Regions from separate parts of the Homo sapiens genome. Here region 1 is linked to region 2. The links are contacts of gene promoters, found by promoter capture Hi-C in blood cells and fetal thymus (Javierre and others, 2016). All regions are on one chromosome and are shown on one strand. Each heading gives the region's core, a stretch centred on a gene start or on the middle of the fragment in contact. The rest is flanking DNA. Distances are from core to core; before and after follow the strand shown. Region 1 overlaps MTMR6 (myotubularin related protein 6). Region 2 holds the start of PARP4 (poly(ADP-ribose) polymerase family member 4).

Region 1 (6,367 bases), core at 1,411-3,910, 770 kb after region 2:
AAAATACAAAAAATTAGCTAGGTGTAGTGGCGGGCGCCTATAATCCTAGCTACTCGGGAGGCTGAGGCAGGAGAATCACTTGAATCTGGGGGTCAGAGGTTGCGGTGAGCCAAGATTGCACCACTGCACTCCCGCCTGGGCAACAAGAGCGAAACTCCGTCTCAAAAAAGAAGGGAGGGGAGGGGAGGGGAGGGGAGAGGAGGGGAGGGGAGAGGAGGGGAGGGGAGAGGAAGGCTTTCTACTTAAAAACCTGAATAAAGATTTCTCTTAGAGGTCAACATTTATTTCACTGTTTAGGACTATTTCTCCCTTAAATAAAAATCTAGCTTCATTTTACAACACACTGCAAATCCAAACTTAAACACCTTTTAAGACAAATGGGATCAACTACTGTTTACTCCTCTTCATTGTGCGTGACTTGGCTGGAAAGGGCACTGTGGCCAACCACCACCGAGCAATTATTGCAATATAGATCTCACCTGTCTTTTTGGGTGGAGCCACAGAGCCAAACCATATCATTTCCTAAGCTATTAAAACAAAGTTTTTAAGGCTCTAACAAGAAGACAGTTGATGAATATATATGGAAATAAAGGTTACCACAAAGTATCAACACTACTCAAGCAAATAATTTGTGTCCACATCATTCAGTAGAGTTTCAAATAGCTTCTCAGAAAAAATTAAAAAGTCTACTGGCAAGTAGTTTAAAAGTGGGGAGGGGCTGATTTTATTACTATTTAAATAGGAAGTTTGCTTTAAAAAGAAATCCATGTGAAATTTTAAATTTGTGGATTTTTTGAAGATCATAAATATTCCTGGTTGTGCTCCAATTATAAACCTCAAGTTGTAACTTCTCTATGAGGCACAAGTATCTACAAAGCTTCTATACATGCAAAACAATCACACCGCTTTTCATTTGGATTTTATTCCTCTTCTGTCCATCCCCTGTTCACTATTACTCTTCCTCAGGGGTCCATTCTCTATAGGAATCTTACCTACTGTCATTATGTTAGCCTATATTTTAATGACTCCCAAAACTGTATGTCCAGCTCTGCTGTCTCCTGAGTTCACACTGTCTGCTACACAGATAATATTTCCTGACATACTAGTGAGGTCTCACTATGTGCCTAGTGCTGTGATAAGTGCTTACCATACATTATTTCTTTTAATTTTCACAACTCCTGTGTAGTATGTACTAGTACTGTCCCCACAGAAACTGGGACTTGGTGAGGTTGGTTAGTCATCTCAAAGTCATACAGCTAGAAGCAGCTAGTGGTATAGCTTAGTCATAAACCTATGTGATCTGATTCCCAAGCCAAAACACCTTCCCACTATGCTATACTGCCTCCACTTAGATGTGTTTGAGCCGTGTTATACATACTGAACGCAAAACTGATTTCCCCTCTCACCCCTCACAAATACATTTCTAATTCTGTATTTTGGATGTGAGTTAATGTTACTCCTCCATCCTTATCAAGTCACCCACACTGGAAATCCGTGAATGATCCTATGACTTCTTCTCAACCCCCAACATTCAATCAATCACCAATTCCTACCATTTTTATCACCTAAATATTTTTAAATCTGCCCCTTTCACCACTATTAAAGTAATTCCTAAATTATAATGAAAGCCTCTGTTCATGTATCTGTCTTTTCCACTAAAGACTAACATAGCCCAGGGCAAAGACTGTCTTTCATTTATGCATGAATATCTCCTAACGGTTAGTAGAGTGTCTGACACAATAAATGTTTGTTGAACTAAGATGAACGGCCACAGAAAAATTATTCCCCCAGGTGAAAACCAGAAGGTGTGCCCAATTTACCAGTGATCCCTTTTGTTGAAATCATTTGATTTATTAAATAAGATTCTTCTTTATCCCATTATACTTTTCCTCATCTCTCTGCTATCTTTTCCCTACACAGTGGGTGAACAGTAGGTATTCATTCAGTAATTCTTGAATAAACCAGCAACAAACTAAAAGCAAATAGAAAACTACTAGTAGAACACATAGGTATAGTTCAGTTTTTGGTTTTGGGTTTTTTTTCTGTGTGTAGTACATGTCTGGACTTTCAATCCTCTATCCCCACTCCATCATTCGATTAGAATAAAATCACTCCTCTAGAACTGTATAGTTCTTTCTGGCTGGGTCTCTTATCAAGGTGGGAAATTTGTGGTGAAAATGCTCTTTCCAACACTCTAAGCCTATTTCCTGACTCCCCTTAGTTTTATATGCAAAATAATCTGAAATTCTCTTTGTTAGATCTTTAATTTTGGTCAGCTATACAGGATTCAAATCCTAGCTGTTCATATGAATCACCTCTAAAACTTTGCAAAAGTACAAATCCAAAGCCTCACCCCAACTTCACTCAGTTATCTGAGGAGATGGAGACTAAGAATCCGTATTTTTCATAAGTTCACCTGCTCATCTTATGCAACTGACATTTCTTCTAACTTTAACTCCAAATTAATTCCTCTGACTCTTAACACACATGAGGCTAGCTTCCTTCTCTACCTTTAGGCTCTTTTCCCAAATATTAACAGCCTCAGCTTATCTATTTCTCCCACATTTTAAAGGAGCTTATTACAACTTTGATCCTTTAAAATGCACAACTGCTACCGGGTGTGGTGGCTCACGCCTGTAATCTCAGCACTTTGGGAGGCAGAGGTAAGGCAATCACTTGAGCCCAAGAGTTTGAGACCAGCCTGGCCAACATGGCGAAACCCTGCTTTACTAAACATATAAAAATTAGCAGCCGGGCGCAGCTTGCAATCCCAGCACTTTGGGAGGCCAAGGAGGGTGGATCACCTCAGGTCAGGAGTTCGAAACCAGCCTGGCCAACATGGTGAAACCCTGTCTCTACTAAAAATACAAAAATTAGCTGGGCAGGCACCTGTAATCCCAGCTACTCGGGAGGCTGAGGCAGGAGAATCGCTTGAACCCAGGAGGTGGAGGTTGCAGTGAGCCGAAATTGCATCACTGCACTCCAGCCTGGGCACAAGAGCAAGACTCTGCAAAAAAAAAAAAAAAAAAAAAAAAAATCAGCTGGGCATCGTGGTGCACACCTGTAATCCCAGCTACTTAGGAGGCTGAGGCATGAGAATCACTTGAACCCTGGAGGCAGAGGTTGCACAGAGCAGAGGCTGAGTCATTGCACTCCAGCTTGAGTGACAGAGCGAGACTCTGTCATAAAATAAAATAAAACAGATGCACAACTCCATTACATGCACGCACACACTCAAACACACATACATCTTTGAAGAACATGTAGATAAATATATACTATCAGGAAAGAGTTTACTAATTCACTCAACAAAAATGTACTGGCTATCAACTAAGGGCCAATCTATCTGTATCTCATTTCTTTATCTCTAAAATAAGGACAATAATCTCTTTTCAGAAAGCTACTGAAAGGTTGGATAATAAATGTCAGGTACTGATATGGTTTGGCTCTGTGTCCCCGTCCAAATTTCATCTTGGATTGTAATCCCCATGTGTGCAGGAAGTGACCTGGTGGGAGGTGATTGGATCATGGGGGTGGTTTCCCCCATGCTGTTCTCTCTTCACAGTGAGTCCTCATGAGTTCTAATGGTTTTAAAGTGGGACACTTTCCCCCTTTGCTCTCTCTCTCTCCTGCCACCATGAGAAGACGTGTCTTGCTTCCCTTCACCTTCCACCAAGATTGTAAGTTTCCTGAGGCCTCTCCAGCCATGTGGAACTTGAGTCAATTAAACCTCTTTCCTCTATAAATTACCCAGTCTTGAGTTGTTCTTTATAGCAGTGTGAAAATGGACTAATACAGGTACTTTATTTGCCTAATAAATATAAGCAATAATATTTGTGCTCAAGTAAATATTTGCAAAACTACTGTAGTTAGTAATCTAGTCAAGTAGGTAGAGCCCTGACAGTCCTCTATGTCAAGCTACTATCCAGATAAGTTCAAATGGAGAAAGGAAGAAGGATGCGTATGGAGTTTAAAAGGCAAATTCCATATTTTAAGGTGCTCCATAGTTGGAAGAAACTACTGTAAATGATGAAAGCACAGATCAGCAAAATGTTCTTCACTAATGGGAATAGGGAAAATACAAAATTCTCAACAGAGGAAATATAACATTTATGTCTCAATAGCAGAGGTTTATCTGATGAAAAAAAAACCATATGTTAAGGTACAAAATCTGTGCTGTAGATTAAAAAAGATACAGAGGTTTTTAAGCACAGTAGTCCATTAGGAAATATGGCTTGTAAGATCATTCCAGTGTGAATGTGGAGAAAATGCTGAGTTGATTAAGGGCAACCAGGTAAGAAGCTAATGAAGCCATCTAAGTGACTGGCTGATATAATTAGGGCCTGGAGTAAGCTGTGACAGAGAGGAAGTCCATCTTGAGATAATAACAAAACTGATAACGGAAGGAAGAAAGGAGGAAAAACAGAGATTCCTTAAGGGTTTTAAGCTTGTCACACTGGTTGCCATTCACTAAGATAAAGTAGTACAGAGAAGAAAATGTCTGAAAGGAATGTCTTTAATATAACAAACTGAGGACTATCTTAGCATAAACCAACTTATATTCAAATCTATATAACAGAAAATCATTACATACAACTGCTTCAATGGGTAATCTCCATATGAATGTGACAGATAGTGAAATTAATCTGAAATCATTCCACAACATTTATTTAGTATTTACACTAAAGTTCTCAAGAAAATAAGAGAATTTCTGAGAAAATACACTGATTATTTTGCTCTTTGTGGCAAATCCCACCCCTCACCCCTAAGGAGGGGAAATCAAATGTTTTTCTTTGCTAAAATCATTGGCATACAAATTTCAAACCACAGACTTAGTCAACTTCTAAAAACCAACTGCTTCTTTATATTTCCCCCTTTCAGCAAGGAACTAAAAGTATTTTACAGATGTTGCTACAGATTTTCCCCAGTCTGTTCTTGGAAATGTATTAAGTCAGATGTTTAGGAAGCAACTACAATTCTTTCTGGTCACTAACACTGAAGTACTAAGAAACTATTAGGATCCTTAAATTATAGGTATCATCACAGCCAAAAAGTAAATGAAAAAAAAGAAAAAAAGACTTTGGGAAAAGAAAGAACAAACGAAAAACGAAAATGTGGCAAGGAGAAAGGAATTGGAAGATGTCGCTTTGGTGAGGAATGGTAAATGCCAACACACATTACTTTAAGGACTATTTAGTTGAATTGTTGCCAACTATGGGCCTGCACTAAAAGGTACCCTAATGGTCCAGGCAGAAAGTTCAAATTTCAGCCAATTATAAAATTAGAACTGGAAAACACAGAGAACCCCACACATACAGAATCACACTCAGAAAATGTTGGGGCCACTACAGGTGTAGTAGCTTACGCTTGTAATCCCAACACTTTGGGAGGCCAAGGCAGGAGGATTGCTTGAGACCAGGAGTCTGAGAACCAGTCTGAGCAACATAGTGACACCCTCATCTCTACAGAAAAAGAAAATTATTTTCTAATTAGCCAGGCATGGTGGCATGCTCCTGCAGACCCAGCTACTTGGGAGGTAAAGGCAGGAGGATCGTTTGAGCCCAGGAGGTAGAGGCTGCAATGAGTTATGATCATACCACTGCACTCCAGCCTAGGTGACAGAGCAAGATCTTGTTGGAAAGGAAAGGAGAAAGACAGGAGAAAGGACAAAGAAGAAAGGAGAAAGGAAAGGGGAAAGAGAAAAGAGGAAAGGAAAAGGAAGGAAAGGAAGAGAAAAGAAAAAAAAGAAGAAAAGATTCCAAATGAAAAACACAGGGAGTCACACAAACAGAATCACATTCAGAAAATTCAGACACCTCTTTATCCCTGAGGAAAAAGTGGCCTCTGGGACAGGAAGGGACCAATGGCCTTCTTCAGACTTCTGTGACCAACAGTTGTACTTATTCTACAACTACATAACAATAGACGCTGTGGCTACTGAAGCAGAAAGTGCACCATCACTGTTCCTCTGGCTTGTCGCACTCCTTCCCTATAGCCAGGCACTCATCTAGGACTCTCAGAATCATTTCACACTGACATCCTGCCAAGAATTAGCTTTCAAAAAGAAAGCACATCAAGTTGTGTGCAGGAAGTGGAGGGCAGAGATTATGGTTTCTGTTCATGTATCCCAATTTCTAGAACAGTGTCTGGCTGCATAAATTATCAAATGAAACAGTCATGGACCTCAAGAGGGGAGAGAGTAACCTCAGATCGTAAATCCAGTGGGCACTTTTCAGTTTTTTCTTACTTTGCTTATTCCATCAATGGCTTCCTATCTCACTCAAAAAAAGCAAAGATTTTACAGTGGCCTTCAAGACTACAGTAACTTGCCCCTGTCCCCCAACTTTAATCTTCTACTGTGCTCTTC
Region 2 (6,150 bases), core at 3,070-5,569:
GGGCTATGTTAGCATCTTGTTTTGCATTTTTCTTCTGGGCTTTTTTCTAGGTCTATTATAACACTTTGTTTTTTGAGACAGTCTCGCTTTTGTCACTTAGGCGGAAGTGCAGTGGTGAGACCTCGGCTCACGGCACCCTCCGCCTCCCGGGTTCAAACGATTCTCCTGCATCAGCCTCCCGAGTAGCTGGGATTATAGGTGCCTGCCACCATGCCTGGCTACTTTTTGTATTTTTAGTAGAGACGGGGTTTCACCATGTTGGCCAGGCTGGTCTCGAACTCCCAACCTTAAGTGATCTGCACACCTTGGCCTCCCTAAGTGCTGGGATTACAGGCATGAGTCACCGCACCCAGCCACAGACTGTATTTTTTATCAAAATTGACATCACACTACCTATCCCGCTGTTATCAGTCAGCATCTTTAGCATTTTGTCATTAAATATTATTGGAAAACATTTTTAATAGAGACTATCAGATATGGACCATAAATGAATTATTGTTGGAAAATTAAATCATTTCTGATTTTTGGTATCATAAAAAGCTATGATGAACATCCTTATGTGCAAATCCTTGTTTCCATCTCCAACAATCATCTTAGAAAATAATACTCAACTAGAACTACTGAATCAAAGTTTGAACAATTTTTTTGTGTTAAAAGTTAATCACTAAGAAGAAAAAATAAAAAGCACCTAAAATGATGGAAATGCTCAAAACTAGACTGCAGTGATGGTGCACAACTTGGTAAATTATTAAAAATTATTGAATTAGGCCAGGCAATGTGGCTCATGCCTGTAACCCTAGCACTTTGGGAGACCAAGTGGAGCAAATCGCTTGAGCCCAGGAGTTTGAGAGCAGCCTGGCCAACATGGCGAAACTTCATCTCTACAAAAAATACAAAACTTAGCTGGGCAAGGTGGTACATGCCTATGGTCCCAGCTACTCAGGAGACTTAGGTGGGAGGATCACTTGAGCCTGGGAGGTCAAGGCTGCAGTGAGCTGTGATCATGCCACTGCACTCCAGCCTGGGTGACAAGAGACCCTATCTCAAAAAAAAAAAAAGAGAGAAAAATTACTAAATTGTACAATTAAAATGAATGAATTTAATGTATGTAAATTGTACCCCAATACATTTTTTAAATAGTATTTTTTGGATACATAATAGTTACATACATATTATGGGTCAATAAAGTTATTTTTAAAAAAGCACCTGATCCCTCCATCCAGAAATAACCCCACTGTTGATTTTTATTTGTTTGTTTTTTGAGCCAGTCTCGCTCTGTCACCCAGGCTGGAGTGCAGTGGCATGATCTCAGCTCACTGCAACCTTCTGCCTCCCAGGTTCAAGTAATTCTCGTGCCTCAGCCTCCAAGTAGCTGGGACTACAGGCACGCACCACCACGCCCAGCTAATTTTTGTATTTTTAGTAGAGACGGGGTTTCACCATGTTGGCCAGGCTGGTCTCGAATTCCTGAGCTCAAGTGATCTGCCCACCTCTGCCTCCCAAAGTGCTAGGATTACAGGCATGAGCCACCACACCTAGCCCCCACTGTTGATATTTTAATTTTTTTGGTGTTATTATTTCTTGTATCATTGTATTTTCTAAATTATTAATATTCTATATTTAATGTTATAGCCAGTTGCTCTTTACTTTTTAAATAGGACTTTCACTTTCACAGCTTATTTAGCTTTTAGTGATATCCTCCCCATGTCACTAAATATTCTTTGAAGGTGTTTTTAGTGGTTACATAAGCTTTGCGTTTATTTCATCCTTCCCCAAGTCATCAGATACTTGGTTACTTAAAAGTGTTCACTATTGGCCGGGCGCGGTGGCTCACACCTGTAATCCCAGCATTTTGGGAGGCCGAGGCGGGCGGATCACGAGGTCAGGAGATCGAGGCCATCCCGGCTAAAACGGTGAAACCCCGTCTCTACTAAAAATACAAAAAATTAGCCGGGCGTAGTGGCGGGTGCCTGTAGTCCCAGCTACTTGGGAGGCTGAGGCAGGGGAATGGCGTGAACCCGGGAGGCGGAGCTTGCAGTGAGCGGAGATCCCGCCACTGCACTCCAGCCTGGGCGACAGAGCGAGACTCCGTCTCAAAAAAAAAAAAAAAAAAGTGTTCACTATTAGAAATACACTTTAATTAAAATGCTTGTACATATATTTTTTTGCCACATCTCTGTCATAGTTTCCCTAGAGTTGATGGCCAGAAATGGAATTACTGAATCAAGGAGTATAAACATTTTTTAGCCTTTTAAAAATTGTGGTACAGTTTTTAAAACTGTGTGTACAGTTCAGTGGCATTAAGTACATACACATAGTTGTGAAATCAAAGTATAAACATTTTATTTTATTTGAGACAGGGTCTGGCTCTGTCTCCCAAGCTGGAGTGCAGTGGTGTGGTCACTGTCACAGCTCACTGCAACCTCGACCTCCCTCCCAGCAATCCTTTCACCCGGCCTACTTAGTAGCTGGGACCACAGGCCTGCACCACCATGCCCAGCTAATTTTGGTAGAGACAGGGTTCTTACTATGTTGCCAAGGCTGGTCACAAACTCCTGGGCTCAAGCCATCCTCCTGCCTCAGCCTCCCAGAGTGCTGGGGTTACAGGTGTGAGCTGCCACGCCCGGCCCAGAGTAAAAACATTTTAAACATAAATCTGCGGTCTGTTCTTAGCACCTGCGGCTGCGTGGGAGGTATGGAAAGGCGCACTTTGGGTTTCGTGAAATCTCAAGTCAGGTCTTGACTTCTCTCTTTCCACAGATTCATCTCTAGTCTCTGTAAAATGCCAGCCCTCTTCTGGGTTAACAGCGCCTAACCGACATGCGCCACTAGTTCTTCCTTGTTTCAAAGTGTTCTCTAAACACAGAGTTAGTTCATGTTTTCATCAGCGCTGATTACGTACATATGAGATGTGGCGGACACTGGGCTAGGGGCTGGTTATTCTCTAAGGCAAATCTGCACAGTCACTCCAGCCTGTCCCCCTTCCCAGCTTCTTCCCCAAATAACATTCACAGAGTGTCTTCCACCCAAAGACAGCAGGGAACAGCCCCGATTCCTAAGAAACCCTCAGCGCGCCTCCTCACAAACTCTTGGCTGCTCCATAAACCATTGGTGTAGGTGGAATCAAGTGGCTTCCTGCTTCACAGGTCTTCGTCTTTACCACTGGCATTTCCTCCTCTCGGAAAACCCTGAGGAGTCCCTTTCTGGGCAGTCTTGATTCTACAGCCTCCGCCTTCCGAAGTGTGTGAGTCAGCACACGCTAAGATCACTTTTGATATACAGTGGGCATTCAATAAAAGCTTGCTTACTAAAAACTCTCACGTATCCATTAAAGCCCAGGATTACAGAAAAGCCTTCTGACACTATTTGCATTTTGGACTCAAATGGCATCAGTAATGCACCTCCCTAATGGGTTTATTAAACCCTTAAACAACAAAGGTACTACTTTTATTTCACTCCTACATGATATACAGTAGCTCTACGCACACAAACAAGACCTAATGTTTACTTAATAAATGATAAAGTCAGATGTAATGAGTCTGCAACACGCACATCTCAGAGCGAACTTCCCCTTTATCATAGCACTATGCTTGGATATTGTCATATAATTGTTGTCATCCAGCAGTCCAGAATTGAAAGTGCTTGGGCTTGAATATTTAGCAGCGCCTTAGTTTTCTAGAACCTGTGATCTACCAACTCGATCCCTGGGTGAACCATTCGGCCCTCCTAGCAGGAATTACTTAACTGAGTTAGAGGTTTTCAACTTTGGACCTCAACAAACACATTGTTTCTATCACGGTGTTCCCAATGACTCACGAGGTCAGATAGTACTTCCTGATTACTCACCAAACCACCTTACTTTTTGCACAATTCGAAACCTAACTTTAGGAAAGAAGGCCGTTTGGCATACTGGAAACAAGAAACAACGCGTGCTACTGCGAACCGCACCGCACGGGGTGCGGAGACTTGGTGTGACTGTCGGCTCCGGTGGGCGCCCCCCACCGCACCCGGTTTCTCGTCACCAGGGCTGCGCCGCGGGGCAGAGCGGAACGACCGCAATATCCCTCCCCGAGGGCGCTGGCTGCACTAGCTAGTCCACTCCCGAGCCTAGCAGCGCCGTCAGGCCCACAGCGCCAACGCCGCGCAGGGCAAGGGTGCAGCCACTGGCGGGAAAGTAGTACGCGGGCCACTTCCTGGCTAGGACTACAGGGACCTTTGCAGCCCCCCACCCCGCAGCGCCCACGCACCTGCCTAGAGGATCCAGCTAGCTCCGGACGCTCCCCGATTCCGCGCTCCTTGCTCGCGGTACTTCCGTAATCTAGGCTCTCCCTGCCCCCGGGGCTGGGCGGGCGCCACTGCGCCGGAACCCCGCCCCGCACCAGGCGGGCGCAGCGTCCCAAGCAGGGACGATAGCCGGAACGCGCCCGGAATCGGGTCCGCCAGGTGGGGAGCGGGTCCCCGGCCTCTGGCGGGGTTTCTCTTCCAAGATCAGCCGGAGGGTTCAGGGCTTTCAGTTTCATATTTCAGGAGGGATTTTGTCAATGAGGATTAATACAAAGCTCGGCTTTGAGAGAGGTGGGTGGATGGTGCTGTCCTTTAACTGAGAAATGGAAGGGATTCACAAGGCCGGGAAAGAAGAAAATTTCGGGAAAGTTCGTGGAAACAGGAGAGTGAGATAATAAATTTACTTTAAGCCTTCCTGCGTTTGAAATTCGTGACAGTGTAACTAGTTGGAAATATATTTATCTGCCATTCAAGAGAGGCAGGGGGCTGGAGATACAGATCTGAGATTCACTGAAATGGGAATAAAGCAATGGGGAAGATTCAGATTTTTAGGATACTGAATAAAATGAGAATAGAAAGGATAGAGTAGAGAATACAGTGGAAAGGGTATGGGGTTGAATCCTGACTCCACAATTTATTACCAAGGGGGCTGGGGACAAGGTAATTTACCAAGTTTCATCATTACAACCTACTCTATAGGGTTGTCTAAGAAACAACAAGAGATTCTGGGGGAGGAGAGAGACTGATTCCTAGAGTTACCACATCGTAATGCTCAAAATGTCCAATCTTCAACAAAAAATTATGAGGCATGCAAAAAAAAAGGCGAAAAAATGGCCAATTCAAAGGAAAAAAGAAATGAACAGAAATTGTCCCTGAGCTGAGGAAGCACAGACATAGGAATTATTAGACAAATACTTCAAATAAACTGTCTTAAACATGGACAAAAAGTGAAAGGAAACATAGAAAAATAACTGAAAGAAACAACCAGGAGAACAAAGTCTCAATAAATAGAGAATATGCAATAGAAGATGTGCAAATGGTCAACAAGCATGAAAAAAAGCCCAGCATAACTAATTATCAGAAAAGTGCAAATTAAAACTGCAATGAGATACCATCTTACACCAGTCAGAATGGTTATTATTAAAAAGTCAAGGAACAACAGATGCTGGCAAGGCTTTATTGAAAAGGAAATGCTTATACACTGTCAGTGGGAATGTAAATTAGTTGAACCACTGTGGAAACCAGTTTGAAGATTTCTCAAAGTGCTGAAAACAGAACTGCTATTCAACCCAGCTATCCCATTACTGGGTACATATTCAAAACAAGAGAACTCATTCTACCAAAAAGACACATGCACTAGTATGTTCGTCACAGCACGCTTCACAATAGGAAAGACATGGAATGAACTTAGGTGCTCATCGACAATGGACTGGATAAAGAAAATGTGGTACATTTGCACCATGGAATACTACGAAGCCATAAAAAGAATGAATGGAATCATGTCCTTCACAGCAACGTGACTGCAACTGGAGGCCATTGTCGTAAGTGAATTAATGAAGGAACAGAAAACCAAATACCACATGTTCTAATTTGTAAGTGGGAGCTAAACACTGGGTACTCATGGATATAAAGATGGCAACAATAGACACTGGGGACAACTAGACAGGGAGGGAGGGGGAGGGGCAAGGGTTGAAAAACTATTGGGTACTATGCTCAGTCCCCGGGTGAGGGGCTCAGTCATACCCCAAACCTCAGCACCACGAATTATATGTAGGTAACAAGCCTGCACATGTACCCTCTGAATCTAAAATAAAAGTTGAAATTATTTAAAAAACAAATAAGGAATATTAATAAAGAGATAGAAAT

Evidence for each region. The method cuts DNA at HindIII sites, captures the fragments that hold promoters and counts their contacts. A CHiCAGO score of 5 or more calls a contact.
Region 1: a fragment that was not itself captured here is called in contact with the fragment with the promoter of PARP4 in region 2 in 1 of 17 cell types (monocytes); the score reaches 5.3 in monocytes.

What each region holds. Positions count from the first base shown.
Region 1 is chr13:25,275,699-25,282,065 of GRCh38, forward strand. The region is part of intron 1 of MTMR6 (myotubularin related protein 6); the gene reads right to left. Among named protein-coding and RNA genes, the nearest start is that of MTMR6, 8.6 kb to the right of the region's middle. The HindIII fragment of the contact is 3,570 bases long and covers 876-4,445 here.
Region 2 is chr13:24,508,459-24,514,608 of GRCh38, forward strand. It overlaps PARP4 (poly(ADP-ribose) polymerase family member 4), which reads right to left and starts at 4,320. Exons shown (of 34, transcript NM_006437.4): 1 at 4,248-4,320. All of the region lies in intron 1 of LOC105370117 (a long non-coding RNA gene), which reads left to right. RefSeq lists a silencer at 4,318-4,477. The HindIII fragment of the contact is 3,630 bases long and covers 3,298-6,150 here.